Regions from separate parts of the Homo sapiens genome. Here regions 2 and 3 are each linked to region 1. The links are contacts of gene promoters, found by promoter capture Hi-C in blood cells and fetal thymus (Javierre and others, 2016). All regions are on one chromosome and are shown on one strand. Each heading gives the region's core, a stretch centred on a gene start or on the middle of the fragment in contact. The rest is flanking DNA. Distances are from core to core; before and after follow the strand shown. Region 1 holds the start of GSX1 (GS homeobox 1). Region 2 has its middle 130 kb from the start of USP12-AS1. Region 3 has its middle 180 kb from the start of GPR12.

Region 1 (4,217 bases), core at 384-2,883:
CTGCCAAGCTCTCAGCCCTGCCCAGGCCCGGGACCTCTGCAAAGCAGTGCCAAATCCATGCCAGGCAGTGGTTTGGCTGCGGGTGCCTGGGAATCAGCGCTGAGTCCCAGGACTAGTCTCCGAGGCGCAGGGAGGTCTTGGGGTGGGCGACCTAGGGAGACACGCGCCTAGGGAGTGACCGTAAGATCCCGGTCGTCCTTCCCTGAGGAGGACGGAGACATGGGCAATTCGTCGTCATCCTCGGAGCACTTGGCTGAGGAGAGCGATGCGCACTTGCAGCCTTGCGGTGCGCTCCCGCCACCACCGGCACCCCCGCCGCCGCCGCCACGATGGTTGCTGCCCTTGCCCTCCTTCTTGTGCTTCACTCGGCGGTTCTGAAACCAGATCTTCACCTGCTTCTCGGACAGATTCAGGTAGGTCGCGATCTCGATGCGACGTAGGCGGGACAGGTACATATTAGAAGCGAACTCGCGCTCCAGCTCTAGCAGCTGCGTGCTGGTGAAAGCCGTGCGCATCCTCTTGCTGCTGGGCAGCTGGTTAGAGCTGCTGTCTGGAGGTGGCAGAGCAGAGAAGGAAGCGATCAGACCTCTGTGCTGTGGACCCAATCCCTTGGTAGGCGGTCGCCAGAATCCTACGACTTTGACCTCTTACCCATCTCTTCGCCCCAACACAATCCACAGCAGAGCTACAGTGAGCGCTCCTTGTCCAGCTCCGAGATCCTGATTCTCCCGGAGTCATGCAGCCCTGGAACCCCTTCCCCTTCATGGAGAGCCTTGGATCCCAGCCCTCACTTACCCCGGCCCACACTCCAGGACCTGGACGTCTGCCCTCATCCGCCTCCTGGCGTTGTGTCCCGGCCCTCTATCCTCACTCCACCCCAAGCGCCCCCCTTAGTCCCCGACATGACCCTCACCGCCCCCAGAAAGCCCAGGGTCCCTCTTCCTCCATCTCTGGCTCTCCATCCTGCTTCGGATCACCTCTGCCCGGTCCCTCTGCGCGGCGGCCCCGCTTACCCACAGAGATGCAGTGGAACTGCCTGGGGTCAGGCAGCGGGTAGGAGGTCTGGTAGAGCGCGGCGGCAGCAGCAGCGGCGGCCGGGCCGTGAGCGACCCCGGGCGACACAGCAGAGTGCTGGCGGCCCAGGGGCGCGTGGCAGTACTGCGAGCCGAAGGGTGGGAAGGAAGCCTTGAGTAGAGGCAGCGCGGGCGGCCCGGGGGGCCCATGCAGCTGCGAGGCGGTGACGCAGAGCGGGCACACGCACAGCAGCCCAGCCTTGCGCGCGTGGCAGGCGCCAGGCGAGAGACCGTGCAGCGCGTGCGGCGGGGGCACAGCGTAGGGGAAGAGCGGCGGCGGGCTGCCCTCGGGCGCCTTCTTCTCGCCCGCCTCGCGCAGCACTAGCGAGTCCACCAGGAAGGAGCGCGGCATGGCCCCGGCGCGCGGTCGCCCCGCAGCCAGCCCGCCCTCTGCGCCCACCGCACCTTTCGGCTCTCCACGCGCTTTCCCTGGCCGCGGTATCCCGCAGCTGCCTCTGCCCAGGAGGCTGAACGCGCGGCTGAGACCTAGGCTGAAACAGTAGCCTCTGCTGCCGTGGGCACCGCCCAAAGAGCGCGGGGTGCTGGCCAGCGCTAGTGGTGCTGAAAGGCGCCGGCGGCGCGGCTTAAATAGGACTATTGCCATGTGATGGACTACGCCAGGAGCGGCCGGGGCCTCTCAATAGGGTTTTTGTGCCTTTTCTCTTGGCATTCACTCTGCACGCTTCCTCATTATTTCACTTGTTAACTAAATGAACTGCATAATGTACTCTATTCTTGTCAACCCCACCCACGCCGTAACAGGCGCCCTCGCCCCCTCCTCTCCCTTTTGCGGGTTTATTTTCTCATTCTCCCGCGATTTAATATTCTTTCCTTTCTCTTTATTTCTTACTCCCCTTTGGCTTTGCATTGGCCATCAGCCCGTTCACCTTACTGATTTTGCACCCCCGCGGCCTCTCTTCTACAGATCCCCATGGGCGCACACCCTCATATCCTCTGTCCACTTGGTCCTGGTCCCCTTCTTTCTATTATCGCCCTTACACCCCAAAAGTATGCTGTCTCCAGTCAGCCCTGTCAGCTCAGTGCCGTGCACCCCCGAACCTCCCTCCAGCCGGTCTCAGATTTTCCACCTGTGGAATCGCTTCTCTCTCTGCGTCGGAAGAAGGAGGACCGGGTTCCCGCGTGAAGGAGGCGTCTGTGGGGAGGGAGGAGAAGGGCTCATTATTCCTTATCCAGCCCTAGACCCATCGCTGTCCCTCGGTTTTCTCTAAGTTTCTCAAATAGTCTTAATTTTGGTGCTGCCTACGACGCCCAGTCTTTGTTCGGTAGATGCTGGCCAACCAGCCCTTTCCTTCAAATGACAGGGCCGTGGATGTAAAAGAGGAAAAACAGTCTCTGAGCGTTACGAACAGAGACAGGGAATGGGGAATGAAAGCCGAGATGGCGCAGATCTAGATCTCGCACCCCAGCACATGTGGCGAGTGCGGACTGTCTGCCCGCGCATCTTGCCCACACCCTGTCTACTGGAGCACACTTCCAGCAGTGCGCTGGGAAACCGCTGCCATCTCTTAGTTTGGAACGGCGCGAAGGGCGGTTGTATTCCTGGCATCGGCTGCCTTTGCCCACCCTGACCCGCCTCCGCTCTCCCCAAGACCCGGCTTCTTCTTCCTGCCGCGTCACTCTTCTTTCTGGTCACACAATGGTTAAACAACTTCAAACGCTCAGAGCTGTGTACACAGCTCCAGCTTTTTAAATCGTTCTCGGGCTCAAAGCTGTTTCGCCCAGGAGCTTTTTCCATACAATGGGAAATCAGCATAAACATTTCTAATTTACAGCCCGGGACTTTTCACAGGAGACGTTTACTTTCGATTTTATTGGAACCAAATCGCTGCAGTCACCTGCTCTGAGCCCTGAATGGAATTGTGAGAAATGGAGGGGGAAGCTTAGGGGTCTGGGGAAGCAGTGCGCAGGAATAAGATTGCCCAAACCCGAAGCATCTGCATGGGCTTTTATCCTTGGCAACATCTTTGCAATAACAACAGCAACAGATTATAACTGATTAAAAAGCAAAGATAATTTGTTTTGCGAGATAATAACTGCTTCTGTAAAAGGGAATAGGACAATGGGAGAAGTAACCTGCATGGAGGGCATGGCATCTAGCAGGAGTAAGGGTTCAATGTTTTCTTGGTTGCTTGGCATGGAGTGGGGGGCAAGGCTGCCCTCTGAGACAGAGTCTCAGCGCCAAGGCTCCCCCACTCTAGGGTGGTGCCTGCAAACCAGCCGGAACGCATCAATGCAGCCTAATTCCCGTTCTAATTGCTCTCTGGGAAATTTGAGCTGGGCTGGGTCGCTGAGAGGAAGCGAAGAGCGAGACCCGGGCGGGGAGAGGGGCTTTCCGCTGGGCAGAGGCAGGCTGGAGGGGCGCAAGGGCGGGCGGGGCCCAGGGGTGCAAGGGGCGGGCACTGCACCCGGAGCTGGGAGCCCGCGAGTGGCCAGCGTGGAGCTCCACTGGCAGCCGCCCCGCGTGCCCGGGGAGGAAGGGGTTAAGAGCCCCTGAATGCGAGCAAGGCCAAAGCTACTGGGAAAGAATATGGGGGTGGGGGTGGGGGTGGGGGGAATAACCAGGTTTTTTTTTTTTTCCTCTCTCCAGCCTCTGGACCTTATTGAATGTCATTGAAGAAAGTTTTGAATGCCAGATAAAGAGAGGCGAATTAAAGTGTGTGACAGCGAAGGATAAGCAAACACAAAGAGAACTCTGTCACACTTTGGGGCAAAATCCGTGGGCTTTTTACCAAGTCTCTTCGCTATGATTGAATTAAGTAATAGGAAAACATTTTCTTTCAGTTTAGAGCCATTAGACAAAAACTTCAAAGCGAATAACACTTTTTAATGTGCGGCCCCACAATGGATCGGGTTTTGTGCTGAAATGTTTAAATGGTTTGTTGTGCAACTCGGCGCGGGAGAGACCCGGGCCGGAGCAAAATAGCATCCCTGAGAGAACCAAGGCGCACTTAATCTGTGGTCTCTCAGCCCGGCGGGCCGCGGCCGGAGAGGGGGCTCCCTGCTTGGCGGTCCAGGGCCGCCAGCGCGCCCAGGAGCCTGGCCATTTCCGCAGAGAAAGCTCCGTGCCTCTGAGAGACCCGAGCCTTGGGCAGGTGCTAGCGCGGGCAGCCGGGAGGTCCGGGC
Region 2 (4,269 bases), core at 981-3,480, 790 kb after region 1:
GTAATATTCCTCCAGAATTTATTCTAAATATACAGATCTGTATATTTATTCTAAATATACAGATATACTAGAGTATAATACACACACACACAAGCATTATGCAGAAATGAATCCACACTCCATGAGGTCACAAACTGCTTTTTCATTTTAAGATATTTGTTGCCCATATCTGATGGTGTGGTCCGTATGCCCCCACAATCCTACTCTTTTTACCCAAGCAGCAACTCAGATGCGGAATCATCAACCTAGGGTCTGAGAGAAGCAGCTGAGATACAGGAAGGGGCCTGGCCATCTTCCCAAGGGCAGAATGAGCATGCCCTGGGTCCCCGACTGGGTCACACTCTGCTGCTCTGTGAGCTGGCTGCCTCTCTTTGTCAGGAAGACCAAGTTCACCGCCACGTGTGCTGGGGTGATTGGATGGGCCATGTGTGGCATCCTGGTTGGGTGGAAGCTGCCATGTAAGTAGTAAAAGAACAGAGCCAGAGCTGTCCTGCGCTTACTAGAGTTAAAGTCCCGCCATGTTTTGCAGAATTATCTAAAGCTTCCAAAGGTTATTGGAGTTATTTCCATTATTCAGAGCTGTGACCAAGTTTGTGAAACTGTATAACGTGGTTAAGAACATGGATTAAACATCTTTTAAGGGGCAGTGGTGTTGGCATGGGTTGTGGGTTCTGTGTGTTTGCGCATATGTGTGTGTGTGTGTGAGAGAGAGAGAGAGAGACTGTGTTTTACTAGCAATTTATAAGTTGTAGTCTCCATATTTTGTTGTAAACCCATAGTCCTTGTGTGTCCTCAAAATTTCTGAATGATCAATAGACATTGTTTCATGTTTGGTGAGTAAAAAAATTATATCTTTGAGAATTTTGATACCTCAGTACATCTGAAACATCTGAATAATACTTTGAGGTGTCTGATGAAAAATATAGTTGCTGCAGAGTCTGTAAATATCTTTTCTCCTCTCAAATTTTGAATAACATAAAGCCCAGGTTTTAATAAATGCTTCCAGGCTGTATTTTTTCCTCCCGAAATGAACTCTTCCCTGCTCTTTCTGTTTTCCTGGCTTCCTCTCTGGTACCAGCATGTCCTGGGAGGACCTTGTGTCACAGTCCCAGGGAATAATGAATCTCACCGCCGTGGAGGTGAACAAGGACGCCCGGTTCATGAACCTCCATGGTGAGGACATTTGCCGTTATTTTTTAAAATTTGAAGTTTTTTTTTTTAAATCATCTCATTGTCTTGTATTATAGAATATTATAGAAGATAAACTATTAATTATCTCATACTTTGGACAGTTTTCCCATTAATTTAACAGAGTAACTGTTCACATTCTTTCAAGGCGGAATACAAAATTTTACAGCCAATAATTAGAAGGGGCCCTGGGGGCATTATTCCTGTCCATGGTGCCAGCATCATCGATGTTTTATTGACTTCACCTTTGAAACTAAGCAAGGCACAAAACACGTCCTTTTATGTCAGAGTCAGGAGATTTGTTTCCCAGCACAGCAACTGCACATCACTTCACAGAGACGAAGACTTAGGTGGAGCAAGGGAAGAGGAAGTGCGAAGAACCTTGGGCTGGAAGCTTTGTTCTTGCACGACTGCTGGTGCCTTAGGATGTTGTTTTTCCTGTCGAACTTCTGGGCAGCAGAGAGGAGGGAACTGCTGACCCACCTCTCCGGTCCCTCCTCAGGTAGCCTCATGCTCGTGCCTGAGGGGAGAGGGTTCAGGGCTTTCCCAGACAATCTGCACCTCAAGCTGGGGGCATCCACACAATAACACGGTACCTGGAAAACTTGTGGGTTGCTCTGTCACTTGGACCTAACTCACTAGGAAAATTCTGTGTTTCAGCTGGGCGTGGTGGCTCATGCCTGTTATCCCAGCACTTTGAGAGGCCGAGATGAGTGGATCACTTGAGGTCAGGAGTTTGAGACCAGCCTCGCCAACATGGTGAAACCCTGTCTCTGCAAGAATACAAAAATTAGCTGGACATAGTGGCGCATGCCTGTAGTCTCTGCTACTAGGGAGGCTGAGGCAGGAGAATTGCTCGAACCCAGGAGATGGAGGTTGCAGCGAGCCAAGATCTTGCCACTGCACTCCAGCCAGGACCAGATGCCTAAAAAAAAAAAAAAAAAAAAAGGAGAGAGAGAGAAAATTCTGTGTTTCTAGCTTTTTTTTTTTTTTTTTTCCTTGAAGAAGCTCAGGAAACAGAAGCAGATGGAGGCTGGTGTTAGATCCAGCTCTAACCCCACTGCACTCATCATTCTGGATTGTATTTTTGTGCTGATCTGCCTTCGTATGAGACAGGGGGACAGGTGGGTCCAAATCTGGGTGGCAGACCCTCAATTGCTACTTCCTGATGAATATGTAAATGAGCCCTTGGGACGTGTTTTAGAACATAGAACACCATGGTCTTCAGATGCCTGGCTGAGCAGGGCCTGGTGACTGCTGAACCAGTGGTCAACTCCTCAAACCCTTAGGGACGTGGCGCTTCCTCAAGGGCAGGATGTGGGGTTGTTTTGCTTCTGTTTTAGGAGGTTATTCTTGTTTCCTTAAAGAGATAGTGAATTCTCTCATGTCAGAGACCGTGGCATGCGCCTCTTTCATGGGAGATGCAGAAAAGCTATGAAACAAGCTGTCTGAAGCAGAATTGAAAGGGGACAGGGAGAGATGGGCAGGCAGGAGGAATTTATTTTGTGCTGACTGTGCAAGGTGCAGAGCTAAGGCTTTCCATACACATTACATAAACTCACCCTCACCTGCCCCCACCCTAAAAGACTCTGAAGAAAGTATTATTATGCCCATTTAAAAAATATTAAAAAACCAAAAGCACAGAGAGACTGTCTCATCCTGGGGTTTGGTTATGATGTGGCAAAGCTTGGTTTGAACACTGGTGTGACTTCCCTAGTCTAGAGTTGTTCATGCTGAGATGGGACCAGTAAACACAGGGAAGCTGACATGTACCCTAGTATTTAGTAATAGATTCTAAATGAGTCTTCTCAGAGATGTACGTGTCACAAAAGATACATCACAGTTGTGGGAATTCCACAGTTTGGAAGAGGCAATAAATCCTTAAAGAATTTTTGTATCATTTTATGTTAATAGAAATTTTAAATATTTTAAATATATAACTTACTATATTCCAGGCAAAATGCTAAGTGCTTTGCGCATCTTACCTCATTTAATACACACACACACACACACACACACACGTGATCCAGTGAGGCAGGTGCAAATATCATCCCCATTTTGCAGATGGTGAAATTAAAGCTAAAAATACCACAGCCAAGAAAATCTTGAAAAAGAACAAAGTTGGAGGACACATGCTCCCTGATTTCAAAACTTATTACAGAGCTACACTAATCAAAACTGTGTGGCAGTGGCATAAAGAGAGACATATAGACAGATGGAATGAAATAGAGAGCCCAATAAACCATTTTTGGTTGATTTGTCATATATGGTTGAATGATTTCAACAAGGGTGTCAAGACCATTCAATGGGGAAAGGGCAGTCTTTTCAACAAACTGTGCTGGGGAAACTGGATATTCACATGCAAAAGAATAATGTTGCAGCCTTACTTAACATCATATACAAAAATTAACTCAAAATCAATCAAAGACCTAAACGTAAGAGCTATTACTATAAAACTCTTATAAGAAAACATAGGGAAAACTTCATGATATTGGATTTGCTAATGATTTCCTTTGTATAACACCAAAGGCACAGGTTAAAAAAATAAATAAACTGGACTTCATGACCATTAAATACTTTTGTGCATCAAAAGATACTATAAATACTGTAAAGTGACAACTTACAGAGTGGGAGAAAATATTTGCAAATTACATACCTGATAAGGGATTAATATCCAAAATATATAGAGAACTCCTAAAACTCAACAACAAAAAAGTCAACACTCAATGCAAAAACATCTAAAGGACTTGAATAGATATTTCACTAAAGAAGATATACAGATGGCCAATAAGCACATGAAAAGTGTTCAATACCTCTAATCATAAGAAGAATGCAAATAAAAATGATAATGAGATAAAACCACACACCTGTTGGGATGACTACTAACAAAACAAAACAAAACAACACAAAAAACAGAAAATAACAAGTGTTGGTGATCATTTGGAGAACTTGGAAACTTTGTACAGTGTTGGTGGGAATGGAAAATGGTGCAGCTGCTGTGGAAAACGGTATGGAGGTTTCTCAAACAATGAAAAATAGAACCACTATATGATTCAAAAATCCTACTTCTGGGTATATTCT
Region 3 (4,248 bases), core at 1,665-4,164, 860 kb after region 1:
TAGGGTTTTGCCACGTTGGCCAGACTGATCTCCAACACCTGGCTCAAGTGATCCACCTGTTTTGGGCTCCTAAAGTGCTTGGATTACAGGCATGAGCCACTGCACCTGGCCAGGGCTATTTTTTTTTTTTTTAATTTTGGTAGAGTTGGAGGTCTTTCTCTGTTGACCAGGCTCATCTCGAACTCCTGACCTCAAGCAATCCTTTGGCCTCAGCCTGCAAAAGTGCTGGGATTGCATGTGTGAGACACTGCATCTGGCTGGAAGTTTGGAAGTTTATTTCTGACTTTTGAGGTCCAAAATTGGTGCAGGATATTTCTGTGGGTGGCCTCAGACTGACCCAGTTCTTCCCCCTTTCATACTTGCAGTTCTTAAGAATAACTGTAGAATATGCCTAGAATACAACATCCTGAGATGGGCTGCCCAAAACAGCCTGATCCTTGTTCCTGTTCCTCCTAGAAAATGTAACATCTTGAGTTAGAGAGGAAATGCCTGGGGCAGCCAAGGCTTTGATTCTCTCTTCCCTGGAAGTAGAATGCCCCTCAAGGTTTTAGCCCAGTGGGTCATGTGCCCCTGAGCTCTATAACCCAGGGCAGGCTGCCTTTTGGGGGTCCCTCAGCTGTGATGCAAGTGAGACATGCACAGTTGAGAATCCATCCACCCTGGACAGCTTTCTTGAGCCTTGGAGGCCTGATATGGTTTGGCTCTGTGTCCCCACCCGTATCTCATGTTGAATTGTAATTCTCAATCCTGGGGGAGGGTCCTGGTGGGAGGTGATTGGTTCATGGGGATGGATTTCCCCCTTGCTGTTCTTGTGATAGTGAGTGAGGTCTCATGACTTCTGATGGTTTAAAAGTGTGTGGCTATATACCCAGTAATGGGATTGTTGGGTCAAATGGTACCCAAAGGACTATGAATCATTCTACTATAAAGACACATGCACGCATATGCTTACTGTAGCACTATTTACAATAGCAAAGACATGGAATCAACCCAAATGCCCATCAATGATAGACTGGATAAAGAAAATGTGGTACATATACACCATGGAATACTATGCAGCAGTAAAAAGGAATTAGTTCATTTCCTTTGCAGGGACATAGACGAAGCTGGAAACCATCATTCTCAGCAAACTATTGCAGGAACAGAAAACCAAACACCACATGTTCCCACTCATAAGTGGGAGTTGAACAGTGAGAACACAAGGACACAGGGAGAGGAATAACACACACCAGGGCCAGTTGGGGGGTTGGGGGCAAGGGGAGGGATAGCATTAGGACAAATAGCTAATGCATGCGGGGCTTAAAACCTAGACAATGGGTTGATAGATGCAACAAACCACCATGACACATGTATACCTGTGCAACAAACCTACACATTCTGCACTTGTATCCTGGAACTTAAAGTTAAAAAAAAGTGTGTGGCACTTGCCTCTTCACTGTCTCTCTCTCTCCTGAGGCCTCCCAGGTTGTGCCTCCTCTACAGCCTGCAGAAATTTGAGTCAATTAAACCTCTTTTCTTTATATATTACCCAGTCTCAGGTAGTTCTTCATAGCAGTGTGAGGATGGACTAATATAAGGTCTGGCTCACAGTGAATCTTATGCTCTTTTGTCCCTTGCTGCCTTCTGCACGTCATAAATCTGCTTTATGTAACTTGTTGCACATGTGTGTGTTCTGTCTCGCTGGACTCAGACAAGTTGGTTGGTAACCAGTACATGATGAACCTACTTTATAACTGGTTTCCAGATCAGAGAAGGGTTCTCCTTCAGGTAGTGATTCAGCATCCCAGGATCATTAATCTAGTGGCTTCCCCATCTTCTGCAAATCATTTTCATGCTCTTTTTTATGATCTGGCAGAAGGGGAAAGAGCACAGAGACCCATACACAGGAAGGTTTCATGGGCCAGGCTGGAGCCCAGTTACATGACCACCCTAACCACGGGAGGCTGGGAAACATAATCCAGTTGTGTGCCCAAGGAGAGAGATGGGTTTCATGAACAACATTTCCTGCCATGGAACAATAGGGAACAACGGAATGAACAGAAGCCCAGCACTGACTGTTACTGTTCACAGAGCAAGTTAGTTTAGTTACCTAAAGTGACTATATGTCAGCTTAGAATATGAAGCTATTTTCACATGAACTCCTATGAAAAAACAATGGCGCTTGTCAGAGGCCTGTCAGCTCTCAACAGTGTCCCATTATTGGCAGAGGCTGCCGCAGTGGAATAAAGCAGAAACTGCCTTCTAAATCATAAGACTCCATACTCAAACAGCTCAGAGTCTAATCAGCATCCTCCTCAGAAAGAGCAGGAAGTTTGCAGAGTGGGAAGGCTTGGCCCCTGTGGTGGTGGTGGGGGAGCTGGTTGTGTTGGGGCCTATTCAGATGAGAGATCATTGAGTGGCCTTGTGTATGATACTGCAGGACCTGAGTCCACTGAAAGCTTTGGCCATTTTTTTGGACTCCTAGTGGGATGGGAGCTGCTGGGAGAAGCTTCTCCTAAAGGAGACCCAGTGGGACCTGGTGAAGCAGGAGTAGAACCCTGAAAGAGCCCCAGTGAGGAGTAGTCTTGGTTGCTAAGTGTTTTAGTCCATTTGTGTTGCTATAAAGGAATACCTGAGGCTGGGTAATTTATAAAGAAAAGGGGTTTACTTGTCTCACAGTTTTGCAGGCTGTACAAGAAGTGTGGCCCCAGTATCTGCTTCTGGTGAGGAACTCAGGATGCTTCCACTCATGGTGGAAAGGGAAGAAGAATTGAGGTGTGCAGAGATCACATGGTGAGAGAGGAAGCAAGAGAGAGAAAAAGAGAGAGAGAGCAGGGAGATGTCAGGCTCTGTTAACAACCAGCTCTCATGGGAGTTAATAGAGCAAGAACTCACTCAGCACTGTGAGGACAGCACCAAGACATTCATGAGGGATCTGCCTCTGTGACCCAACTACCTCCCACTAGGCCTCACCTCCAACATTGGAGAACAAATTTCAACATGAGATTTGGAGAGATAAGCATCCAAACTATAGCATTCTGCCCTTGGCACCCCAAATCTCATGTCCTTCTCACATGCAAAATACCATCATTTCTTGCCAATATTCCCAAAAGTCTTAATTCATTTCAGCATTAACTCAAAAATCAAAGTTCAAAGCCTCCTCTGAGACTCAAGGCAAGTCCCTTACAACTGTGAGCCTATTAAATCAAAATCAAGTTATTTACTTCCAAGATACAATGGTGGTGCAGGCATTGGATAGACACTCCGATTCCAAAATGGAGAAATCAGCCAAAAGAAAAGGGTAATAGGCCCTATGCGAGTCTGAAACCCAGCAGGGCAGACATTAAACCTTAAAGCTTAAAAATAATCTCCTTTGATGCCATGCCCCTGGGCACACTGGTGTGAGGAGTAGGCTCCCAAGGCCTTGGGCAGCCTAGTCCCATTGCTTTTCTAGGCACATCCCCTGTGGCTGCTTTCATGGGTTGTAGTTGAGTGCCTGCAGGATTTCCAGGTACGGTCTCAAGTTACTTCTGACAATGATAGGTCGGCAGCCCCCTTCCCACAGTCCCAGTAGGCAGTGTCCCAGTGGGGACTCTGTGTGGGGGCTCCAACTCCCCCACATTTCCCCTCAGCACTGCGCTAGTAGAGTCTCTCTGTGAGGGCCCCATCCCTATGATAGGCTTCTGCTTGGGTACCCAGGCTCTCAGATATATCCTCTGAAATCTAGGTAGAAGCCACCAAGCCCCCACCATTCTTGCATCCTGTGTGTTTGCAGACTAACATCAGGTGGAAGCTTCCAAGGCTTACAGCTTGTGCCCTTCAGAGTGTTGGCCAGAACATAACCTGAAGTTGTTTGAGCCACAGCTGGAACCAGAGTGGCCTGGATATGAAGAGCAGTATCAGTATCTCAAGGCAGCACAGTACAGCAGCACCCTGGGCCTGTCCCCAAAAATAATTCTGTCTTCTGAGACCTCTGAGCCTGTGATGGGAAAAGTATCCTTGAAGATTTCTGAAATGCCTCTGGGGCCTTTTCCTCATTGTCTTGACTATTAGTACCTGGCTCCCTTTTATCTGTGCTAATCTCTCTAGCAAGTGATTGCTCTATAGCACCCTTGGATTCCTCTTCTGAAAATGCTCTTTCCTTCTCTCTGACACAGCCAGGCTGCAAATTTTCCAAATTTTTATGCCCTGTTTCCTTCTTCTCTACCAATTTACCGTAAGAAGTTAGAAGTAAACACACAGTAGTCTGAGCACTTTACTGCTTAGAAA

What was found. Contacts are between HindIII fragments. The CHiCAGO score rates a contact against its expected background, and 5 or more counts as called.
Region 2: a contact is called between a fragment that was not itself captured here and the fragment with the promoter of GSX1 in region 1, in 2 of 17 cell types (fetal thymus and naive B cells). The highest score is 5.3, in fetal thymus.
Region 3: a fragment that was not itself captured here is called in contact with the fragment with the promoter of GSX1 in region 1 in 1 of 17 cell types (erythroblasts); the score reaches 5.9 in erythroblasts.

The regions. Positions count from the first base shown.
Region 1 is chr13:27,789,899-27,794,115 of GRCh38, reverse strand. It overlaps GSX1 (GS homeobox 1), which reads right to left and starts at 1,633. Exons shown (of 2, transcript NM_145657.3): 1 at 1,014-1,633; 2 at 1-550. The coding sequence starts at 1,425. The coding sequence ends at 168. RefSeq lists an enhancer at 903-1,706. The HindIII fragment of the contact is 6,142 bases long and covers 1-2,975 here.
Region 2 is chr13:26,995,786-27,000,054 of GRCh38, reverse strand. No RefSeq gene overlaps it. Among named protein-coding and RNA genes, the nearest start is that of USP12-AS1, 130 kb to the left of the region's middle. RefSeq lists an enhancer at 2,450-2,719. The HindIII fragment of the contact is 1,292 bases long and covers 1,585-2,876 here.
Region 3 is chr13:26,935,587-26,939,834 of GRCh38, reverse strand. No RefSeq gene overlaps it. Among named protein-coding and RNA genes, the nearest start is that of GPR12, 180 kb to the right of the region's middle. The HindIII fragment of the contact is 847 bases long and covers 2,491-3,337 here.